Regions from separate parts of the Homo sapiens genome. Here region 2 is linked to region 1. The links are contacts of gene promoters, found by promoter capture Hi-C in human tissues and cell types (Jung and others, 2019). All regions are on one chromosome and are shown on one strand. Each heading gives the region's core, a stretch centred on a gene start or on the middle of the fragment in contact. The rest is flanking DNA. Distances are from core to core; before and after follow the strand shown.

Evidence for each region. The method cuts DNA at HindIII sites, captures the fragments that hold promoters and counts their contacts. A contact is called where the count stands out against the background at its distance.
Region 2: a fragment that was not itself captured here is called in contact with the fragment with the promoter of GRID2 in region 1 in 1 of the 25 tissues and cell types used here (dorsolateral prefrontal cortex).

The regions. Positions count from the first base shown.
Region 1 is chr4:92,301,538-92,306,122 of GRCh38, reverse strand. It overlaps GRID2 (glutamate ionotropic receptor delta type subunit 2), which reads right to left and starts at 2,157. Exons shown (of 16, transcript NM_001510.4): 1 at 1,379-2,157. The coding sequence starts at 1,466. RefSeq lists a silencer at 331-625. The HindIII fragment of the contact is 11,112 bases long and covers 1-2,908 here.
Region 2 is chr4:90,386,980-90,391,326 of GRCh38, reverse strand. All of the region lies in intron 3 of CCSER1 (coiled-coil serine rich protein 1), which reads right to left. Among named protein-coding and RNA genes, the nearest start is that of CCSER1, 260 kb to the right of the region's middle. The HindIII fragment of the contact is 5,574 bases long and covers 1-4,142 here.

The DNA.
Region 1 (4,585 bases), core at 908-3,407:
CACGCTAGACAGAAATCCCTCGCTTGGGCGGGCACAATCGCCACCTGCAGCAGATTCCCCTACCAGGAGTATGTGTACGTGCGTGTGTGTATGTGTATGCGTGTTGTGCGGTGGAGAAGCAGGGGTACAGAAAGGGGAGAAGCTGTGACCCATCTGTCGCCTCAATTTGCAGAACACCAAGCCATGCGTACAGATAAAAGTCCTGTGCCCAGAAAAATTCCCCCAAAGGGACCTCTCTGCAGCCCAGCAAAGAAACCTTGCTGGCTCGGTAAGCGAATTTCCGAAAAAGAAATCGTCGCATTAACGCAGAAAAGGCTGCAAGAGCCTGTCTCCCGCTCAGCTCTCACGGATTAGCAAGTGAGTAGAGTTGGAGCCTGAAGCTGCGAGCGCTGTGCATGATAATGACGCGCAGCCCCCCGCCCGCCCCTGCTCGCCGCGGCCAGTCCCGGCCCGTCTGGTTGCCAATAGGTGGGGCCACCAGCATCTCGGAGCCCGCTCGGCAGTCCTTCTCAGAGTCGCGGCCCGCAGTAGTCCCGGCGCCTTCGCTGTCTGCCTTGCGCGGCTACTCGGAGTTGACTGCGAGGCGAGGCGAGGCGAGGCAAGGCGGATATCTGCTAAGCAGACCTCGGGAGCAGCCTGCGCGCATTCGCTTCCCCGCGTTTCCCAAGCGCCCCGGGGTCAGTTTCGCCGCCGCGCCAGGCCCCGGGAGCGTGTCCGAGGAGGCGAGGCACGCGACAATCAGTCCTTGGCGACACTGCCGCCAGCCCCTCCTGCCACCGTCTCAAAGACTACACGCAAGGATCATAAAGCCAAGAAGATGTGAGAAGAGAGGGTGGCTGGGGGCGCATCCGGCACCCCCGTCACCATCGCACTAAGCTGCGGCGAACTCAGCCGGCTCACGTTGCAAAACCACCTGTTCGATCCGAAGGGAGCTCCCCCTACCCCCCAGCCCAGTTCTTTTCATCTCACAGGTGACAGCTTCTCTGCTCCCCCAAAGATAAATTTTTAAATGGAGCAAATGTACATCCGGGAAAAAAAATATGGAAGATAAGAGTCAATTAAACTCCCTTTCCCCACACACTTAGAATCCCCCTGCAGTTCCCAGCACACACTCACACTCAGGTCAACTCGAGACCCCCACGCATCCAGCCACATTCCACGAATCACTGCAAAACAACAGCACAAGTCAGTCGAGGTTCGAGCATCCACATCCTTTCAGAAAACTGAGCAAGTGTGAGGGAAGGGTAGCGGGAAGGGGCAATGAACTGAAGCCACCTCCAACAAGACACACAGAGACCGGAGAGGGGGAAAGCGAAGGGGAAACATTTGAGAACTGAAACGGTAAAAGTAACCACGAGCTGCACCAACACTTTCTTACCGATGTGAATGATCGAATCCGCATTCGCCGAGTCCCAGGTTCGAGACCACCAGACGGACAAAACCAAGAGAAAGGGGAAAACTTCCATCTCCTCCTATGCCGATTCTCTTGGAGGATGGATTTTCTTCCAATTTTTTTTTTTTCAAACAGTCCAAAGAGTTTGAGGTCACGGTGGAGTTTAGCGCAGCTTTTTCTTTTTTTCTAAATTCCTATTGCCAGAGCAAAGCCTTTTATCGTCGCCGAGAAAGGCAGAAGGGAATGACAGAAAGAGCCCAGCCTGAGGAAACCTCCTTCGCAAAGCCGTGTCACTTGGAGGGGAATTTTGGCATCGCCAGAGTTGTTTGCAGTTTGGCTTTTGAAAAATATATCCAGCCTCTACTGCTCTTGGGCAGGGGGAGAGGCTGGGGCTCAGATCAGACCCATCGCTGCGCGGGGGCCGCGGGTCTCCGGTCCCAGCTCCGCTGCAACTTCCAACACCCCCCTCACGCCGGATGTGCCCCCTTCCCCGCACCCTCTCGGACCAAAAAAGACCCCCGCCCCCGCCCCTACAGCCCGCAGAGAATCACTGGTCTTCGCTGCCAGAATCTAAGTGGAAAGGAAAGATTAGGAGATTCCAAACGGAGCAGCCAGATTCCACCAGGGAGGGGGGAAAAAAGCCCTCTCCAAGAGGGGTAGAAAAAGTGAACTTCAAGGTAATGCAGATAGTAATGCAGAGAAAATTCCCTTTCTGCGTGAGGCGCGGAACGCAGCTTGGCGAGGCGGGCCCGGGGAGCCGGTTTGCTGGGGCGCGGTGGCGGGGGGGTTGCGCCGGGCGCGAGCAGCGGGGCCGGGCCAGAGGAGGGAAGCCGCCGCAGGCTGCAGGATGCTTTTGGAGCGTTTCGCCTGGCGGGATGCAGGAAGCAAGGAGCGAGCCTGGCAGCTTCAGCACCAGCCCCACGTTGCCTAGAAATGGATCACCTAGGAGAAGGAGCGAGCCTGCGAGAGAGCGGTGCTGTCAGGCGGAGAGAGGGGGAAACCAAGAGAGGAAGAGCTTCTCTCTAATAACCACCTCCTCCCCCTATCTGCAATACAAGGGAGAAACAAAATAGTGCTCTCATTTCCCATGGAATCTTCAACCGGGACTGAGAAAAAGGCAGGACTGTAAAAAGACATTGAAGCTTTTTTTTTCCTTTCTTTATTTTACGAGGTTAAATGCAACCTAAAAAAGCCACCCCACTTATTTAACCTTGCTATTCTCTAACAGGTATCAGACTTTTTCTAGTCTTTGCCTGGAATTAGTCACATTGGTTGAAAACAAATTAGGGACACCTGGTCACTTAGGGAAATACAGACCTAGAAAGCTTTTAATGAGATTTCAATTATAAAGTTATAAAAAGGAGAGAACGTGCTAATTACCTTTTATACAATGATTTTTTTTTTCTGTCTCCAGTGTATTTTTTAGGCAATCAGGATAGAGAAAGGTTCCTGAAATCCTTTCTATTGATAGAAATTCTTCTCTATCAGGATAGAAAAGATCTTGAAATTAAAATAAAAAAGCAGAATAATTAAATAAAACAGAAAAATTTTTCATAAACATTTGGTCAAAATATTTCATTGAGTAGCTTAATAACCTATGTAGATAAATTCCGAATGAGGAAGTTGGGTACTCTCTTCCATGGAAAAAGCTGAGGAAGTCCTGAATGACAGCCTCTCAGTCTCCAGTGAAAGGATTTTCTGCAAGCTTATTCCTTAAGATAAAATCCTGATCATTGTGACTTCTTTTCTTATAATGATTGACTTATGTCAATCTGGCCTCATTGCAAACTGAAGATTTGTTAACACAATCGAGTGACTAGTCGAGGTCAGGTATTAATGTCATAATATTGTCTCAGTTATAATTGGAATTCTTTAGGAATGTTGGATGTGTGGATGTCAAGCTCATTACACAACCTTTCAAAGCCTTACCTCCAAGTTTGGCAAACCTCTTTTCCTCCCGTTCCCTCACTTGAGCCCTTCTCTCTAGCCTTCTGAATTGGGTTACTATTTTTCCAGACACAGTTGTACATTCTCACTTCTGGCTGTTTTCATTCATCTTGTACACTTTTTCCTGAACATTCCAGAAAATGTTTTGCTGCCATATTTTTACTTATGTTAATATTTCTGCTTGGAAAGCACGTATTTGTCCTCCCAACCACTCTCCTTCACCATCTCAAGGGCTAGTTCAAATTCCTTTTGCCCATGAAGTAGTGTCCAGTCCTTTAATGTGGAATAAATCCATCTATCTTCTATGCTGTCGTAACACACCCTATTTTGTATTAGAGTTAGACAGAACTACTACTAAGTTAGATCATAAATGCCTTGAGAGTGAAAACCAAAGCTCATTCACATTTTATTCAACACAGCATTTTACAGAGAACCCCTTTGTTGACTTGAATTTCATCACTTCCTTCTGAATCTGGAACAAACCAGTGCTTCCAAGAAGCATTCACTGATTAATTACTCTCAATTTTGATCATTCTCTTATCTTTTGTTTCCATTAGTAGACATTGACTCAATATTGATTATATTAATGTTGGTGTTAATGTCATTTTACTTTATAAAGTGTTTTGATGCAATTCCATAGATTATACTTTGCTTATTCAGATAATGAATTGAAAGAAGAGATGCACTCCCCATAGCTTCCTTCAAATATTATTTACAGTGACATTCTAAAAATTGGTAAGTCATTATGTATTCTATCAAGAAAAATTATAACCATTTAACATGGAAAGAACACCATGATATCTTAGAATAAGATAACTAGGAAGAACTTCAGAGCATTAACTAGTCCAGTCCTGGCTAATGAGTATCTGTCCTGGAGAAAGTCAAATATTGTATAGTCATATTCATACTATTTCCCCTCTTGGAAATGTTTTAGTGTACTGTGAGCAAAGCATTTTCATTATTCCCAAATCCTCCAGTTTAGTAGTTTTCAAATGTAGATTCACTTTGAAATAATCTGAGAAGCTTTTTAAAATGGTCACTTAAGGCTAATTTAATCAGAATCTCTGGAGTTTGGGACACAGCCTGTAATATATTCTAAAAGCCTCTATACAGGGCTCTGCTATGCAGCCATAGTTCAGAATCACTGTTCTAATACTCAGACATTTAAATGAGTCTGGGTGACACATCAAAAAAAGCCCTTAAGGTATAATGACCACTCCTGCCAATCAGAAGAAACAGTAGAAC
Region 2 (4,347 bases), core at 106-2,605, 1.9 Mb after region 1:
TGTTACAAACAAAAGGGCTACTTCTTTTTCTTTTTTTTTCTTTTTTTTTTTTTTGAGACAGAGTCTTGCTCTGTCGCCCAGGCTGGAGCGCAATGGCACGATCTCGGCTCACTGCAACCTCCGCCTCCCAGGTTCAAGAGATTCTCCTGCCTCAGCCTCCCGAGTAGCTGGGATTACAGGCACATGCCACCATGCTCAGCCTTTTTTTTTTTTTTTTTGTATTTTTAGTAGAGGGGAGTTTCATCATGTTGGCCAGGCTGGTCTTGAACTCCTGACCTCAGGTGATCTGTCCGCCTCAGCCTCTCAAAGTGCTGGGATTACAGGCATGAGCCACCATGCCCAGCCCAGAAGGGCCACTATTAAAAAGTCAAAAAACAAGAGATCCTTGCAAGGCTGCACAGAAAAAGGAACAGTTGTACATTGTTGGTGGGAATGTAAACTAGTTGAGCCACTATGGAAAAGAGTTTGGAGATTTCTCAGAGAACTTAAAACGAAATTACCACTCAACTCAGCAATCCCATTACTGGTATATATCAAAAAGAAAATAAATAATTCTACCAAAAAGATATATACACTTGTATCTATGTTAATTGCAGCACTATTCACAATAGCAAAGACATGGAATAATCCTAGGACCCCATCAATGGTGGACTGGATAAAGAAAATGTGGTGCATATACACTATGGAATACCACACAGCCATAAAAAAGGACAAAAGCATGTCTTTTGCAGCAACATGGATGGAGGCGGAGGCCATTATCAACTTAAATCAGGAACAGAAAACCAAATATAGCATATCCTAACTTATAAGTGGGAGATAAACATTGGGTAATACTGGTCAAAAAGATGGCAACAATAGACACTGGGGACTACTTGGCATGTGGGAGATAAAGGGTCAGAAGGGTGAAAAACCTAACCACTGGGTACAATGCTACCTACCTGGGTGATGGGATCTATTGTACCTCAGACCTCAGCATCATGATACCCATGTAACAAACCTGTGCATGTACCCCCGAATATTCAATAAAAGTTGAAATTAAGAAATGAAAAATACAGTTCTCATTTGTATATATTCACTGCCCAACACACAAAAAGATGTAAATGGTATGTGTCTACAGAACACTAAACAGTAAATCCCTTGTTACTCAAATGCCTACATTATCTCTACCTCTGCAAAATTGATTCCTGCAGACTTTAGCCAAACATACTGCCTTCTAAAAATGTCATTTGAATTTCTTTCATTGCACCTTTACTGAGTGTATCCCCTTTTCTCAAATGCCGGTAGAGTAAACACAAGGTAATATATCTAGATTTTATTATATGACAGATTTTCTTTACAATACATATAATAGGTGCTAAAAATGCCTCATGATAATGACAGACAAGTTAAAAAGCTTTTCTCAAAAGAATTACCTTTATGAGAGCATTGCTTAAGGCCAAGAGTTGGAGACCAGCCTGGGCAACATAGCAAGACTGCATCTCTATAATACTTTTAATTAAAAAAAAACTAGAAATTAAAAAATACTTGTTTTTATGTTCAGCATGTGCTGGACTCACAGAACAGACACACCATGTGCTGTGTCCACTTAAGTAGAAGATAGTTACAAAGGAATAAATACGGACTATTTATTGTACTTCCTGCTAGAAAAGTCTGGAGAAATATAACTATCTCACTCTTTGTGCTCCATCTGATCAGTTCTTGAGGTTTCAGAGTCTCTACTGTTGTATCACTATAATGTAAAGAAAATAATATCTCATTTACCTAATAATATCCCATTATGATGTCACTAAATGATAATAATAACTCATTTAATTACAGGAAATGAGATGTCATGTTTCCAAACTATTTTGATGAAGAACAGCAGTTTCCTTTTTAAAGCATCATTTTTTATAATATGTTGGTTATTTTGATGAAAATACATTATCCAGAAAAAGCACTCATATGTAATACAGAGGAATGTTTAAAGACATTTACTTGCTATATAGCCCTATACTTGCTTAGTTGTCTTAGCATTTCCGAGTAATGCTTGCTTTTTTTCCCTAAAGTTGTCATGTCAGCCTCACTGGAAATGTTTATTTTTCACAACTGTCAGTGTGTATAATTCTGAAAATTGTATGAATTTCCCATCACGTTATTATCTCATCATATGCTGGAGTTAGCCAAAGAGAACCTAATACATTAACTTGTTAAACCAGTGGCCATAATGTTAATCACAAAGCAAAATTAAGACCTTCTTGTTAAAAATCGTTGTAGTTCTTAAAAAATGGACATTTTTGTGGCATGGATATTTTTCCTGTAATTAAGATACAAGTTTTATTCTAAGTTTATCTTTGAATATACAATACTATGAGATAAACATCTTACTAATTTATAAGTTAATATTTATCATAGGGCCAGGTGAGGTGGTTCACGCCTGTACTCCCAGCACTTTGGGAGGCCAAGGCGGGCAGATCTCCTGAGGTCAGGAGTTCAAGACCAGCCTGACCAAAATGGTGAAACCCAGTCTCTACCAAAAATACAAAAATTAGCCAAATGTGGTGGCAGGCACCTGTAATCCCAGCTACTTTGGAGGCTGAGACAGGAGAATCCGTTGAACCGAGGAGATGGAGGTTGCAGTGAGCCAAGATCACGACATTGCACTCCAGCCTGGGTGACAAGAATGAGACTTCGTCTCAAAAAAAAAAATTATCATAATATTTAAAAATAAACATCAAATGGGCCGGGCGTGGTGGCTCACGCCTGTAATTCCAGCACTTTGGGAGGCCAAGGCAAGCGGATCTCCTGAGGTCAGGAGTTCAAGACCAGCCTGGCTAAGATGGTGAAACCCCGTCTCTACTAAAAATACAAAATTTAGCCGGGCACAGTGTCAGGCACCTGTAATACCAGCTACTCAGGAGGCTGAGGCAGGAGAATCGCTTGAACCCAGCGGGCAAAGGTTGCAGTGAGCTGAGATCATGCCACTGCACTCCAGCCTGGGTGACAGAGACTCTGTCTCAATAAACAAACAAACAAACAAACAAACAAACATCACTTGTACTCAAGTGATACTTACTATGTCACTCTTGTGTCAAATAACACAGTATATAGTGGGAAACCCAAAATAATGAGATTGATAAACCTGATTTCTAACTCTGACCCAGTCACTAAAGCAGCCTTGTGAACTAAAGCAAATCATAAACTCCTTCATGCTTTTCCATAAAATGAAATATTAGAATAGGTATTACCTGCAAGCCGTTCAAGTCTAAAATGTTAACATCTATAAGACAACCAACATCTTCTTTCTCATGGTGATATACTAGCAAGAGATAGCCAAACTCAAAGTCTGAGAGCACAGTCCTCAAAACTGTCCTTGCTTTTGACACCAACAGCAAGATTGCAGGATTCACAAAACCACCCTCTAATGCAATCATTCACTGAAAGGACTCACAGAACTGGCTGAAAGCTATGTTTTTGGTTATGGTTTATTATGGAGGTAGGGTACAGATAAAATACCAGCCAAGGGAAAAGACACATAGGGTAGAAACTGGAAGGATTCAAATGTAAGCTTCTGTTGTACCCAGGACCTATTACCCTCCTGGAATTGATGTGTGGCAACATAGATGGAGTACTGCCAAAAAGGGAAGCTTGCCTGAGCTATAATGTCCAGAGTTTCTCATAAGGCTTCATTACTCAGGTATCATTGACTGATTGATTGATTGACTACATGGTTAATCTCAGCCTCCAAGTTGACTGATATTGCATGACCCAAAGCCACCATCCTAAATCACATGATTGATCTTTCTGGCTTAGTCAGCCTCTACTCTAAGATTATTAAGTGTGGCCAGCCTCCATTCTAAACAAAGACACTCCTATCAGGTATGACACAGATTACCTCTCAGAAACCGAGGGCAAAGGACAGACCTCTTTTCTTTGGCAAGGTCAAATTCTTTGTTACACATACACTATGTTTCCATAGGCTCTGCATGGCTTTCTTCTAATCTAGCCTTATTTAAATTATTTAAGCCTAAAGTTAAAAAAAGGTGCCATTTTCTATTTTGTCATATTTTAGAGCCATATCTGCAGGTAAGGAGTATCATAGAGGTTTTTTTTTAATCATTGCTTATTTTTTAAGAAAAATAAAAACAAATATTTTACTAAAGTAACATAATGTTAAAATAACCAAAATGTTTGTATATGTCTAGGTTAAAGCCTTCCTGGTTTTTCTTTATGTCTTTCCGCCAAATCTTCCATATTGAACTCATAATTCTGGTAATAAAAATTAACGTATTCCTTATTCATTAACTCTTATGAGGGCTTACCAACTAGGATAGTACTAAGTTCTGAACAATGAACAAGAAAGAAAAGTTT